3 separate regions of the Homo sapiens genome follow, and regions 2 and 3 are each linked to region 1. Evidence: promoter capture Hi-C in 16 types of primary human blood cells and fetal thymus (Javierre and others, 2016). All regions are on one chromosome and are shown on one strand. The core of a region is centred on a gene start or on the middle of the fragment in contact, and the rest is flanking DNA. Distances in the headings are between cores, read along the strand shown.

Region 1 (4,511 bases), core at 911-3,410:
GGAGAGTAATTTTCTCCATCTCCTCCCTTCCAAATGGAAATCTCTGCTTTTCACCCTTCTCTTCTCCTCCATCTCCTCCCATTCCCAATTTTGGAACACCCCGTGGTGAGCAACACTGGAGTGATTGAGAGCAAGTGTTGCTGTTGAACCAACCAGGGCTGGAATCTCAGACTTTGACGCTTCCTAGCTGTAAGAACTTGGGCAAATTATTTAACTTCTCTCAGTCTCAGTTTCTTTCTTTGTGATGTGAGAGCAGTGATAGGGTTGCTCTAAGACCATAATGTATGTAAAGCCCTTGGGGGATAAACGTCACTACTCTGCCATTATTTAAGGGCTTGTGTTCCCAGCATATGCACCTTATCTTGGCTCCTACAGTCTCTACCTGAATCAAATTCTACCAGGCCCCAATATTCTTTTTTCCCCTTGGTATAGCCCTCAGGTGTAATGGAAATGGACTGATCTGTTATCGCTAGGTTTTGCTTCATGCTGCTTTTGTGACGATTAGGGCACCATTCACTCTATAAAGCGTTTTCTCGGCGGCAAAATGTGTCTGTCAACACCTTCCTTGCATACCTCACTAAGTTTCGAGCTTAGATGAGACAAAGTATGGTGAAAACACTCTGTAAACGCGCTAGGTGAGCAGAAGCGGGACTCTGCGGGGTGCCAGCGAGAAGGGATCTGTGCTTAACCTCCTGGAAATCTAGGAGGGTCAAGAGGTTGGAGAATCGGGCTCCTCCCCCATCGTCTTTCTCCCCAATCCTTCTATACGGACCACACCCTTCTGGTCGGCCTTTTCCCCCTAATTCCTGTAGACACAGCTGCAGGCGCCCTTTCCCTGGAATTTCCCCCTCTACCCTTCCCGGTCTCAGGAGATGCTTCGACTGCAGCCTAATGAATAGCTAATGGCCATGCTAATGAGGCTCTGGGGCTCCTCCCTCAGCACCTGATGTGCCCCACACATGAACACACACATATTGCCAGGGTCTCCTTTCTCTCCACCTTCGAGTCCCCAGCACAGTGCTCGTCACTAGACTCGAGTGGGTCGAGGCAGAGGGATGGGGACCGCGTGCACCTGGAGGGAACCACACGCGAAAGCGCCCGGTAAAGCGGGGGTTCCCGATGCGGCAGGCAGGGGGCGCGCTCCGGCCTCTCCGCAGGCTGGCGGCGGCCGGCTCCCGCAGCTTCCCCGCGGCGCTAGGGGAGAGCGCGCTGTCCCAGTCATTTATTAATCACCGTAATTAGCGGTAACGACCTCGCCGCCAGCTCCGCCCGCCCGCCACAGCTCTGCCGGGGTGGGCCGGCTGAGAGTCCCGCCGCTGAAAGACAAACTTCTAAGTTTCCTTAAAATGATCGCCGCCCCTATCCCCTCCGTAGCAAACACATCCAGCATTTTGGCTTCCTCTGGTCCTAAGTGAGTTCTTGGGAAACTTCGGGGTTCCGAAGACCAGCTGCCTGGGTGGGTCACCGAGTGACCTGGCTTGGCCGAGGCCGGCGGGAGACTGTGCCCCCTCCTCTGCCCTCCCTGCGCTGGGCCCGGGCCTTTCTTAGCTCGGACTTCCCTGCCCGTTACCAGCAACGGTTCTTCTCACCTGGGGTGGGCGTTGTAGGGGAAGGGAAGGAGGTGTAAAAAGACTCAGTAGCCATCTTCTCCCAAGCCCTCGACCTCCCGCGGGTACCCCCACTCATGTGCTCGAAGCTCCAAATTATCCCTTAGACCCCACGACCCAGGGAGGCGCTGGGAGGCGCCACTCAATCCCGGACCTCGGGACAGGAGCGCTTCTCCTTCCCTTCCACGCCGCCCTCTCACCTCATCCCCATCCCAGGATCCCATATCCCCAAGAGGCAGGGTCTCACCGTTGAGAGAGGGATCGCCGGGAGGCAGCAGGGTGTGGTTGAGCGCCGCCAGCGAGGAGTTGAAGCCCAAGAGCAGCTCGCTGGAGTTGGAGATGTCCCCGGCCAGAGAGTCCGCGAACAAGTTCATCTGCAGCAGCGTTTTCAGCAGGTAGCGCAGCATGGCTCGACCCAGCTGGGATCGGGACTGGGGGCTGGGGGCCCAGCCCCTGGGTCTGAGACCCGTGGGCTGGGAGCCGTAAGCCCCTCCACAGCCTCTGCGCGCTGCGGCAGCCACGGTGCCGCTCTCCTGCCGGTGCGCCTGGGTACGGTCGGTGCCTCTTCGTGCCCTCCTCCTTCCCTCGTCCTTCTCTCCACCCCCTAGTGCCGGAGTCCCCTGGGAGCTGGGCAGGCGGAAAGCAGGTGCCACGCCGATCACGGCGTAATTAAGGGATTAATCCGCCTCCCTCCACCCTCCCACCCTTACCTCTACAGTCACTATCCGAGCAGGAGACACGAGTAGCGTAGCGCGCGAGTTGGAGTCCCCGCCCCGCACCCCAAGCCCAGCGTTCCGTTCTGGACGCGGCGAGAGATTTTCCCTGTCTCAAAGCACCCAAGATGAGGGACGAGGCTCTGTCGGACTCTGCCCTTCTGCCCAACTTTAGAACAGGAATCTGTCCTCTCTTTTCCCGAACCTTTTGGAAACTGAGGCAAAGCGCAAGCAATGCTCCTTGCTGCCAAAGTTCTGGTTTCCATTCCCTCCCAAGTCTAGGGGTTTGGCGACGGAAGGGCAGGAGACTGGGGTGGTTTGCAGCAAGAGTTGGGAGTAGGCAGAGAATTCCAAGACAGGTCCACCTCTCTGCCCTCTGGTCCTTTGGTCTGCAGCCAGGAGGCCAGAGGATGGAGCGGCGCGCCCTGACCCGGGAGTCCTGCTCCAAACGCCCTAATCTAGGAGTTCCTGTAGGAGACTGAAAGCCAGGGAAACCCAGGCAACTGTCATTTATTTGAATCCTTTTACATTACCCTGCTTTGACATTTTTTATTAAATTGTTTTACGTTTTTGAGGAGACTGAAATGGAACCAAGGATTCTAGGACAAAAACAAAGATAATATTATTTTTGTAAAGGCATGTGGGATTGCTGCAAAATTAGTGCAAATCTGTTCAAATCGGATAGCAGTCGTCCTTCCTGGGGGGGGCGAAAAGAAAACCATGGGCCCCTACTCCCACCTCCCACTTCCAGTCGCGGTCTGCTTCTGACTTTTCTGGAGTTCTTTCTACCTGAAGACCCACCTCGACAAACTCACTTTCCTAGACAGGAGATGGCTTTGGGGTATCAGGGAAAGAGAGAGGCCGGGGCATTCCTAACCTGAGGTAAGGCCCTGCTGATTGAAGAGTCAGTGCCAGAGTTCTGGCTCAGCCGTCAGGTTCTGGGATGAGACAACTTTCATGGGGCGACTGCTTCTGACCCCAAAGGGGTCGAGATCAGAGGGGTGGGTGCTATACAGTCGCAGACTCTGGAGTAAGCAGAATCAAGAATTGAAATATTTCAGGCAGAGCTTGTTCAAGGGAACCCGAGACATTGTCAAGGGGTGGGGGGCTTGTTCCAAGCCTCCTTCCTCAGTCCAGGCGCCTGGCTGTGAGCCTCCAACTATGGGTGTTTAGGTGCCTTCCAACCCTAGCAGTTCTGGGCGGGACGTAGAAAGGCTGGAAGCACTAGGTGTGGGGGAGGGGGTAGGTGGGAGTGGGGGTGGGGCCGGATGGACCCCCCACCCCACCGCCACGCAGCGCCCTGGGAGCTGTCCTTTTCAGCACCTCATCTGCAGGTGCCTGACTAGGGCCCTGGAGCCCCCAGGGAAGACATAAATCCGAGCAGACCCTGAGGCTGAGGACTGGGGTAGGTGGGAGACGGGCTAGAGACACATCCTTTCAAAAGCAAGAAGATAATAAGAGATTTGACGCCCCTCCCTTCCTCGCTCCAGGGTGGTATTCAGATAAGAGAGAAAGTAAGGGATGTATTTCCCACCCGAAATCTATCCTTCAGGAATGACCAACACAGAAGTGGGTTCTAATTCTACGTTTGCCAAGTACAAGACGTCACCGCTTTGGATCTCAGTTTTCCCATCTGTTAAGGAGGAATTGGAGTGCTTGATCTACTCTGACCTGTGAGATTCGAGGCTCCGGGGCCCTTTGCTCCGCCCCCTGCTGACCGCGGTCACCTGGGTTCCATCACAGCAGAGGCTGAATCGGGATAGAAACCCCACGTCCTGGTACCAGGCCCTACTCTGGGGCGGAGGGGGCCAGAAACCCTCCCACCATGCGGCTCCTGCCCGGTCCTAATGCCCTGATTTGCTCCCGGCTGGCCTCTCCGCAAACACAGGGCCTGCCAGCGTCTAGGGGCTTGTCACCCTGTTAGCGGATTTGTTCCCGGAGACGGCGCAGTTAATTGGCCCTTTATGTGGGGATCAGGGCGTATTTGCTCAGGGTTCCCTGAGCGGAGGCGCGGCTCAACCCGTGAGCAAGGCTGCTTCACAGTCCCTGTCACGTGGGTTTGGAGGCTGGACAAATAGCCGGGCCACTCTACTTTCCAGGAATCTGCTGTCTCTCCTACACTTCACCTCGTCTGGGCTCTCTCTAATTTTCACTCTCCACTTTTTCTTGTTTCTCTCTGCTCTTTCCTTCT
Region 2 (4,511 bases), core at 1,026-3,525, 310 kb before region 1:
GCCCAGACAGTCGTAGGAGAATAGACTTGAAAGGGGCTTGAAGAGAGCCAAGGATAACCTGCTCATTGTATAAAATGAGGATTCTGAAATCCAGAGAAGTTAAGAGATGAGTCAAGGTCATATAGCTTGTTCTCAATTTCACATGCGTTTTGTTTGGTCTCCTCATCAAAAATATGTAGCTCCTAGAGGATGAGGCCACTGAGTGTTCCCCACAGCATGCTAATGGGCACTAATTAAATAGTGGGTTCAGGCCACACCTGTTGACAGGTGGATTCTTAGGGAGGAAATGAGAATGAGAACAAGCACCTGTCGCCCCTGGGCCCGGGGCATACACTTGACTCTCTGGGCGTCTGTCTCCCTGCCCTGGACCTGGAGATAGAACTGACAATCTCCACAGAGGAAGGTCTCCTGGGAGGAAGGCAGGACAGCTCCTCAGAAGGAGGGGTCACATCACATTTAGACCTAGCACAGGACTTGGTACAGAGGAGCATCCATTCCTTAACAATGCACTGTGGACTGAGGACCGTGAGGGGAAGCTCTGGGGTAGGGCTCACTTGCCACTACTCCAGCACAGACCCATTGTGCTACGCTGGAACCCAGAGAGCCTGTGCCCTCCCCTTACCTAATAGGAATTAGACAGATGCTACCACTAACGGGCTAAACTCCCCTTGGTGTTTGTCGGCTTGACATCTGTCTGGATTGTGAGCTGATGACCACGGGCACGAGCCCCCGAGGGAATTCTTTCCACCCAGGGGTCCAGCTTACACCTGGGCTGGCAGACCAAGGCCACACTGCAGCCTCGCTGCCCCCACTCATAGCCATGAGATATCCCCTGCTCCTAAATCTACCTCTGCCTCTTAGTGCGGGCCCTCCCAGCCCCACCTGAGACTGAAGACTTTGTGGAAGTAAAAAACAGATCTTCTAGACTTTGGTTTTCACAACAGTAGCTCTTCCCAGCATTTGCCAAAGATTCGAGTAATGGAGGAGATGAGTTTAGCTGGTTCTTTTATGAAAGATCTTGGGAGAGGACTAGGTAGAGCTCAGGAATGGCTTGTGTTGTCTCCAGAAGGCTAAAGGAAGAACCATCATCATAGAAGATAAGCCTGGGCTACCCTAAATAATGTGCTCCATTGCTACACACAGACACACCTGCACCCACTTCCTGGACCTGCCACTTTAGCCACTCTCTGAGCCCCAGTTTCTCTTACCTATAAAATGATACAATGCCCATTTTACCTGCTTCACAAGGCTAAGAGGATCACACAAGGGCATGTGAGAATGAGCTTTATTAGGACAGAAGACTAATATTTATTCAACATGAGCTTGCCATGTGCCAACCACTTACAGATGTTTTCTTCCAGAGTTTTCACAGCAGTCTTAAATATGCTTGGTAGTATTATTATCCTCACCTATAAAGCCAAGAAAACGGAGGCTCAGAGGGGTTAAGTGATGTGCACACTGCTTAGCTGTAGTAGAACCAGGGTCAGAACCCAGAATCTGACTCCAAAGCCTGTGTTCCTTCCCCTAGCCCCACGCTGTCTCAACAAGAAAAGTAAATGCTGCTTTTTATGAAGAAGCCAGTGAGTTTTCAGACTGAAATTGCTGCCTCATGGAGCCATCCCCTATCGCTAGGAACATCCATTTGTCCCAGGCAGGCCATCAGAAGGGTCAGAACCAACCCCTAGGCCCCCACTGTCCTTAAGACTCTATACCACAGGGGCCAAGCCCCTGCAGTCTGTTGAATGTCATCATGATTCTTTGCTCGGATTTGTGGCGGTGGCGGTGGTTTTAATGATTGCCTAGCCACAAAGCCACGAAGCAATCCAATTGGGAGGAAATATGGAATCATGGAACTTTGAGTAGAAGGGGACCTCTGAGAGCAAGTTCAAGCTCCTCATTGGATAAGTGAGGACACTGACATCCAGAGAAGGTAAGTCCCTTGTTGAAGGTCACACAGTCAGTCAGTGGCTGAGTCCACAGTGGAATCCACCATGCTCAGACTACCAGTCCCCCCTTTCTCTCCACCATCCCGATCACCCTGATATCAATCAGCTTCATGGTTCCTGAGATGGAAGAGGGCTGGATGTGGGCCTATAGTCTCTGCTCTCTCTGCTTAGGGAAAAAGGGGATCTTAGGTAAGAAAGCCATGTTGCAACCAGGAGTGAAGTGATTTGTTTGCCTCATGCACCAACTCATTGGTCTAAGTTCTACCCATTGAGAAGCCAACGTGGAAAGGTCTGCTCGGAAATCCCTCAGTGTGTAAGGGAAACTGGACCCAAACAACAAGGCCTTACCTGGTGCTCCTGGGGCAGGGACAGCCCACTTCTGGCCACCTGGGATAGGTAGAGGGGGCTAAGCTCCTCCTTCTAGTCCAGGCTGCTCCCTTGCAGTCCCCAGGACAGCGCAGAGCACCATGACCTAGGAGGCTCATGTTTCATGCCCCCACTGGCCAGCCGCTCAGCCAGTCCTCCTCTAACACTCTGCAGAGGCTCCCTTCCTCCCAGAAGTCTGCCCTGTGACTCCACTCTGTCCTGGTCACTCCACATCCTGCCCCACTGTTGTCTCCTGTGGTTAACACCTGGTTGGTGGCTTTTTCCACGTCACCTCTCTGTCCATCATCTCTCAGGTCTGTGTATTGTATGTGCCCTCTCTACTGTTAACCCCAGACACCCCTCATCCCCAAAGTGTCCTCAGGGTCTGTGTACCTGTTTTCTACTGCAGCCTCTGCCAGGGCTGTGCACAGCAGGCAGCACCAGGCCACAGCATTGACTGGCTATTTGTGCAACGCTGGTTGAAGACGCCAGTGACCTGGAAAAGGGCCCAAGCCAGGTTCTGGGGAAGCAAAAGGAAAGGGAAAGGGGTAATCCTCCAACTGGATCATCAGCTCCAACATAACATGACAGAGGAGAGTCAACCATGACTGAGCCTCTCCTCTGTGCCAGACACCGTGCTAGGGACTTAACAGATGCCCCTCAACAGTCCTGTGAGCTATGTGCTTTTACTTCCCAATTTACAAATGGGGTAACTGGATCGAAGATGTTAAGCAACTTGTCTAGATCCATATGACAGGTAAAGAGCAGGGCTAGGCTCTAAATGAAGTTTTGCCTGATGCTAAATAAAGCCCATACTCAACACCGCCCCCACCACAAGCAAGCTCCTTGAGGACAGGCTTCATGGCAATGTCTTGGCTTTGTTTTTGCTGCTGTCTCCTCAATGCCTAGGACTGTGCCGGGGACACAGAAGATGCTCTATAAATATTTGCTGAATGGAAGAACAAAGGGAATGGGTGAATGCCATGCTGCCCCTCCCCAGCAAGGCAGGACACCTGCCCATGATGCCCGATTACTGGGTTCTATTTCCAAGAATCCTCAACAACTATTTGTTCCCTCTCTACTAGATTTGGGATGGCGATGTGAGTAGAGATGTAAATTGAACACAAAAGACTACGTCCTAATGAGGTGGAGGATTTACAAGCCTCAGTGCCCTGTGACCTGCTGCTTCTGTGGCCGCTTTCTGGCCCATCTGGATCTGGCTCCTCCTCCACCCCAGCCTCCCCCCTCCCCCACTGGGCACCCCCACTGCCTTGACTGAGCCGTACTCAAATTGGCCACGTTCCTACTAAGCAGAAAACTAACAGTTACCCCACCCACCCCGGCCCTATCCGAACTCTCCAGAGTCTGCTCTGGGCCCCAGGGCCAGCTGCTTTTCTCCACATTCCAGCCAAAAATAATACAAGAACGAAGCTGTTTGGTGGAGACTTAATCTAATCTTCATTGCTTCAGTTTTAAAATATCCTGCCTGGTTTAGGGTTTCTTATTACACACAGGGATGTGTTTTTAGTGAGATAGGTCTTAGCAGAAACGTCCTTCTTGTAATTAGAAACCCAGGCAGGCCGGGCCTGCAGTGAGGCATCCAAGCCAAACAGCAGATCCCCTTGAAGACAACGCATTTGCAGCAAGCTCTTCTCAAGCTCTGCTTGACCGCGTGAGATGAACTGAGCTGTCCCGGGCTTGCTTCTCCCTCTCTCCTGGGGGTTCTGGACGGGAGGAAAACCTGGAGTTCAGGTAGAAAGACTGTGCCCTCCAACTGTTGCTCTCTCAACCCCCAGCCCTGTCTCCCACCCCCAATCAAAATGGAGACTAAGATGTTGCCTGTGATTGGCTGAGAAGGAAATGAGGAGGAAAAATTACCCCAAGGAATCCCCAAAGACTAGGGAGTATTAAAGACAAGCATTCCACCAGAGCCGCGTCTCCAGGATCAGAGCTAGCTTTTACAAATCAGACACCGGAACAGAAGGAGTCTACGAGCGCACACACAGTTTTGTGTAAGTGCCGGGTGTAACTTCTTGGGCTTTCTGGCCCAGAATCTGCTTTGATCTGCCAGCAGAGACTGCTAAGAGAGGTTCAGGCCGTGGCTAGCTGCAGACCAGCACCCAACCCCCTCAGCCGACCAGATGTCACACACACACCAGTCAGGGCTCAGGCCTTGCCTTCCCAGTGGAATAAAGAGAA
Region 3 (4,511 bases), core at 1,269-3,768, 280 kb before region 1:
CGCCCGGCCTGCCACTTTATTCTTTATTCATTCATTCTTTCGTTCATTTGACACATACTGTGTTTCAGGTGCTGGCTGGGAAAAGCAGGAATTGGGGAGCGGGTAGACACTGAGACTGGCCATGACACTCACCAGGCCTTACTCCTTCCCCTTGTCCATGGAGCTCAAGGACTTTGCATTCTAGGGGATGGGGTTGATAAATAAATTATTACAACGTGATTATAAGTATATCAATATATCTACATCTATCTGTCTACCTATCTACCTACCATCTACCTACCTATAAAAGGAGTACAAGGAAGACAGCCCATCTCTGACTAAAGAAGTCAGGGGGAGCCTCAATCTAGAGAGGGTACCACTGGAGCCAGTGCTGAAGGTTATGATGGGAATATCCTAGGAGAGTATCGGGGATCCTGGGAGCTTCCCTGGAAAGTCTGTGACTGATGCCTGAGCTCTTCAACCAGAGTCATCAAATTCAGATATTCACTCTGAAAGGAGCCTCAGAGGCCCTCTCTATCCACAGGTGAGCCGACTGAGCAGTGCCAGGCCTGGGGTGAAGCGGAATTTCAGGAAGCACCCCGTCTCCAGCCACACAGGCGCCAACCCGCCAGCACCACCCTGCAAGCAAGGCCTCACCCTGGTCTCAGGCACAGCTCTCTCCAAGGGTCACACAGCAAAGCCAACAGTGCCATGCAAGGACCCCTGCCGCCTGCACTCCAGTCTTCTGCGTTTTGTGATTATGGAGAGCAAGGGAAAGGGAGAAGGAAAAGAAGGGGAAGAGGAGTCAAGAAATGCACCGCAGTCTCCTGTTCCTACAACAGAAAAGACAGCTCTGAAACTCTATATCCACCCACTTCAAGTTCCCGCCTTCCTCAAGCTTTATGTTCAGAAATGAGGATCTCTTCCCCACAGAGCCCTTCCCTCCCCTCTTTCTACTACGTGCTCTTCCAATTCCACACCTTTTCAACATTTATTTCAGCTGCAGATTGTCTTTCAAAAGCTGGCGGGGCGAGCCCTGCAGAGCCCACCACCGCGGCCAGAGGGTTGTAGTTCTACAGTCAGCCAGCAGGGGGCAGGCCTGCTCCGAGTCTCCGTCCTGCCCCGACCATCCCAGCCCCCCAGCCCAGTCACAACTCCTTAGAGATGCAAATTGAGAGGCAGCCTTCCTAACCCGAGAGGGCTGCTAATTCTCTGACAGTATGCAGATTTCCATCTTGCCTTTGCCTGGGTTTATTTGTTTTACTTTGCAATAAATTTAATACAGACTCCCTGAAGCAGAGAGGCAGATGGACTATAAAGTGCATTTTGAGCAGCCTTAGTTACTAGGTTAGTGTGGGTTTTGATCCCTGCTTAAATTATATCTATGAAATTTGACATGGATTTGGGTCTGGGGTTTGCTGGCTCCTTGGTGCTCTGGAGCGGCTTTTAGAGCATTTACAAGGGTTGATTTGATTATTGGGGCTTTAATTTTTCACAGAGGCTAACGAGGAGGCTGGGAAGCCCGGCCGGGGCCTGGCAGGAAGATGGAAAAGCTGGGATAAGTTGGGTTTCTACCTGCCCCAGTGTTCACGGTATCGAAATCGTTTTCTCATGTCCCTCGAGGGGCCCTAAGTCACTCTCACCAAAGAGCTGCATGCGGAAACCTGTTCTGATTCCCGGGGTAGTAGTGCAGCAAGGAGCTAGCTCAGATTCTACGAAAAAAGTCAGACGCACATATGGGACAGACATAACTAAAACATCTATAAAGAAACATTAACAAGAATGGTACAGATCAGCATTGTATAACAATGTAAATTGGATGTGAGGGGACTTGGCAGAAGGACAAAAGTCAACACACTCCTGTTAACCCCTTTGCCTTGTGCCAGAGTGTGCGGCCTCCCACTTCCCTACTTCCTTCCAGCAGATCCCTGAAGAAAGGAGGCAGAAGGAACTAGGAATGGGATGAGTTGGGTTCTTGCCCTGGCTCCACCGATTACTTCTTTGTTCAGATATTTGGTGAATATATTTAATTTCTGCAAGCTTCAGTTTCCCTCTGCACAGCTGGAATTTCATTATCATGAGGACCCAGTAAGAGATCTTCAGGAAGAATGTGTGTAGGCTGTAAAGGACCGGACCATAAAAAGTGAGTACATGGACAGATGTCATTCCCCGGTTGTGAAATGGTCATTGATGGATTAGGGTAGCAAGGCTTCAAGGCCAGAGAGGAGCTATTAATGGAATTTCCAAAGCCAGTCCATGAGGCAACATTGGTGGAATGAGTTGGGTTTCACAAACTAGCCAAGGTGTGAGACGGCCAGCTTTCTCACTGGTGGTGAGTTCTGTTCACCTGTGTGCGAAGCCTGCCTGCCAGCAGAGGACACCCTGAGAAGGTTCCAGCAGCAGCAGCAGCAGCAGCAGACGCCGAGGATTGTCCTGCAGAGCCCTGAGGGCTTGGCCACCCTGGCTGTGGGAGACTGGCAGGGGCTGGTGCTGCAGATTCATCTTCTCCCGCGTGAACCCGAGTGCAGGCAGAGCTCGGAGACAGAGGAGGGAGGGGAGGGAGGGCCCCTTGGCAAGAACCCAACTCATCCCATTCCTAGTTCCTTCCGCCTCTTTTCTTCAGGGGTCTGCTGAAAGGAAGTAGGGAAGTGGGAGGCCCGTCCCTCCTGCCTCCCTCCTCTGCATCTTCACATCTCTTAGGCCAGAGACTGGAGCAGGAAAGGGAGTTTGAGGGGGAACTAAGAGGAATGTGTTTGAAGAGCCAAGAAGAGCAAAGATTTGGGAGCCACCAGAGAAAAGGGGTAGAGAGTAGAAAGAGGCAGGTCGGGGAGAAAGGAAGGAACCATCACACATTGATATTTACTCCTGAAACTTTGAAGAGGATTGTGAACTGCTGGGGGAAGGGGAGAGAAATGAGAGAAGAGAAAGGAAATAACCAGCTCCACATGAAGGAGGGGGTGGGGTACAGGGGAGGTGGAGGCTGAGATTAAATGGAAATGAGGGGCTTGGTCACCATGGAGAAAGAAGCTGGAAGCTTTGGCAGCAGTTTGTCTATTAGGAGGAAAGGCAGGGATCAAAGAAGCTGTGGTGTGTCTATACACACAACCGGATTGGAAAATAACTAGCTGAATTCTGCCCAAAGCAGGGGGGGAGGGGGAAGGGAGTGAAAACTGGTTGAATTCTTTCCCAAATAACAATGGTTCTCCCCACGCTCGTTTCTCCCTTCTATCTGTTCCTCTGTCGCCTTAGGAACACACTACACTGAAACTGTTGGGTTGTGAAGATTTTGTTAAATTAAATTTGGTGACTTCCCCTCCGCCCCAGTGACCTGTGTGTTCAAGGGAATGGAAACCCTACATCCTGTCCCGGACAGAGGAAGGGAGATGGTAGCTGTGGTGGGGAAGGAGGGCGAAAGGAGGGACGCAGCAGTGAGGGTAAACCAGCCGATGCCTTGGTCTTCACGGGACCCTCTGAAGGAGAATGAAGAAATCCAGAAGCAGTGGCCACCGGCCAAAAGAATGGCCACACAGCCTCTCCAGAACCACAGCGGGGCTGCACTGGGACCCATGCTGGGTCTCTGCCTGACCCTGGGCTTTTCAGAGAGCCCACAAAGGCTTTTCTCCAGGAACACCCTCCCTGTTCCAGACCACATGGCAGGTGAGCAGGCGGGCCAAGGGACAGCTGTCTGGGTAAAGGTGGGGTGGAGTGTGGAAAGATCTGAGACCAAGGCCCACAGGCTCCTCAAACACAGAACAGCGCTGGGGCCAAGAACTGGAGTGGGGCGGGGGGCCTGAGGCCAGGGCCTCCACGTGGACCCTTCCCCTAACCTGTAAGTATCAGCAGCGGGGTGCAGCGGGGGGCCTGAGGCCAGGGCCTCCACGTGGACCCTTCCCCTAACCTGTAAGCATCAGCAGCAGTGCTGAGCAGGGGGGAGTCTGGCTTCCCGGCTGGAGGCAAGGAGACTGAAGGAAGAAGGAATCAAGGTTGCTGAAGGTTAGAGGCTTCAAGGGAAAATGGAGCAGGGGGCAAGCCTCTGACTCTGAGTGTGTGTGAAGAGCAGGGTGGAGAGGAACAGAGCCATACATCTGTCTCTTGCGATCTTCGGGATACACTACGCTAACATTTTGAAAATCATTCATCATTTATCTGAAATTCAAGTTTGACTGGCTAGCATGTATTTTGTCTGGCATCCCTATCCCTGGGTCCAAGGGATTGGGGTGATAACCACAAGGCTTATGTCACAAATTGGGTGAGGCCAGGGAACCCTTATAGACCTCAGAGGTTGGTGACTTACAACATACCATGGAGCTTTACCCATGCCCAGGTCCGATCAGTGTGTCCCAACTGTAGCTGGGGTTAGGAGAGCAGTGTCGTTTGCAGGCACGCTGGGCCATGGGGGAGCTTGGCCAAAACTTCATCTCTGCCAGTGCCTTTAGGAGTGAACCAGAATCCGGCAAGATCAGAGCGACTCCCCCAGAGGAAAAACTGCCTTTTTTCTACATCCACGCGAGTCTTGGAGGCTAGCGAGGCCT

The links. Contacts are between HindIII fragments. The CHiCAGO score rates a contact against its expected background, and 5 or more counts as called.
Region 2: a fragment that was not itself captured here is called in contact with the fragment with the promoter of ROBO3 in region 1 in 1 of 17 cell types (neutrophils); the score reaches 5.1 in neutrophils.
Region 3: a contact is called between a fragment that was not itself captured here and the fragment with the promoter of ROBO3 in region 1, in 1 of 17 cell types (non-activated CD4 T cells). The highest score is 5.1, in non-activated CD4 T cells.

What each region holds. Positions count from the first base shown.
Region 1 is chr11:124,863,081-124,867,591 of GRCh38, reverse strand. ROBO3 (roundabout guidance receptor 3) reads right to left here and starts at 2,160. Exons shown (of 28, transcript NM_022370.4): 1 at 1,855-2,160. The coding sequence starts at 2,014. RefSeq lists enhancers at 1,168-1,844, 4,184-4,511. The HindIII fragment of the contact is 17,224 bases long and covers 1-4,511 here.
Region 2 is chr11:125,170,016-125,174,526 of GRCh38, reverse strand. All of the region lies in intron 1 of PKNOX2 (PBX/knotted 1 homeobox 2), which reads right to left. Among named protein-coding and RNA genes, the nearest start is that of PKNOX2, 7.5 kb to the right of the region's middle. The HindIII fragment of the contact is 7,759 bases long and covers 1-4,511 here.
Region 3 is chr11:125,138,472-125,142,982 of GRCh38, reverse strand. No RefSeq gene overlaps it. Among named protein-coding and RNA genes, the nearest start is that of PKNOX2-DT, 24 kb to the left of the region's middle. RefSeq lists an enhancer at 636-1,192. The HindIII fragment of the contact is 994 bases long and covers 2,022-3,015 here.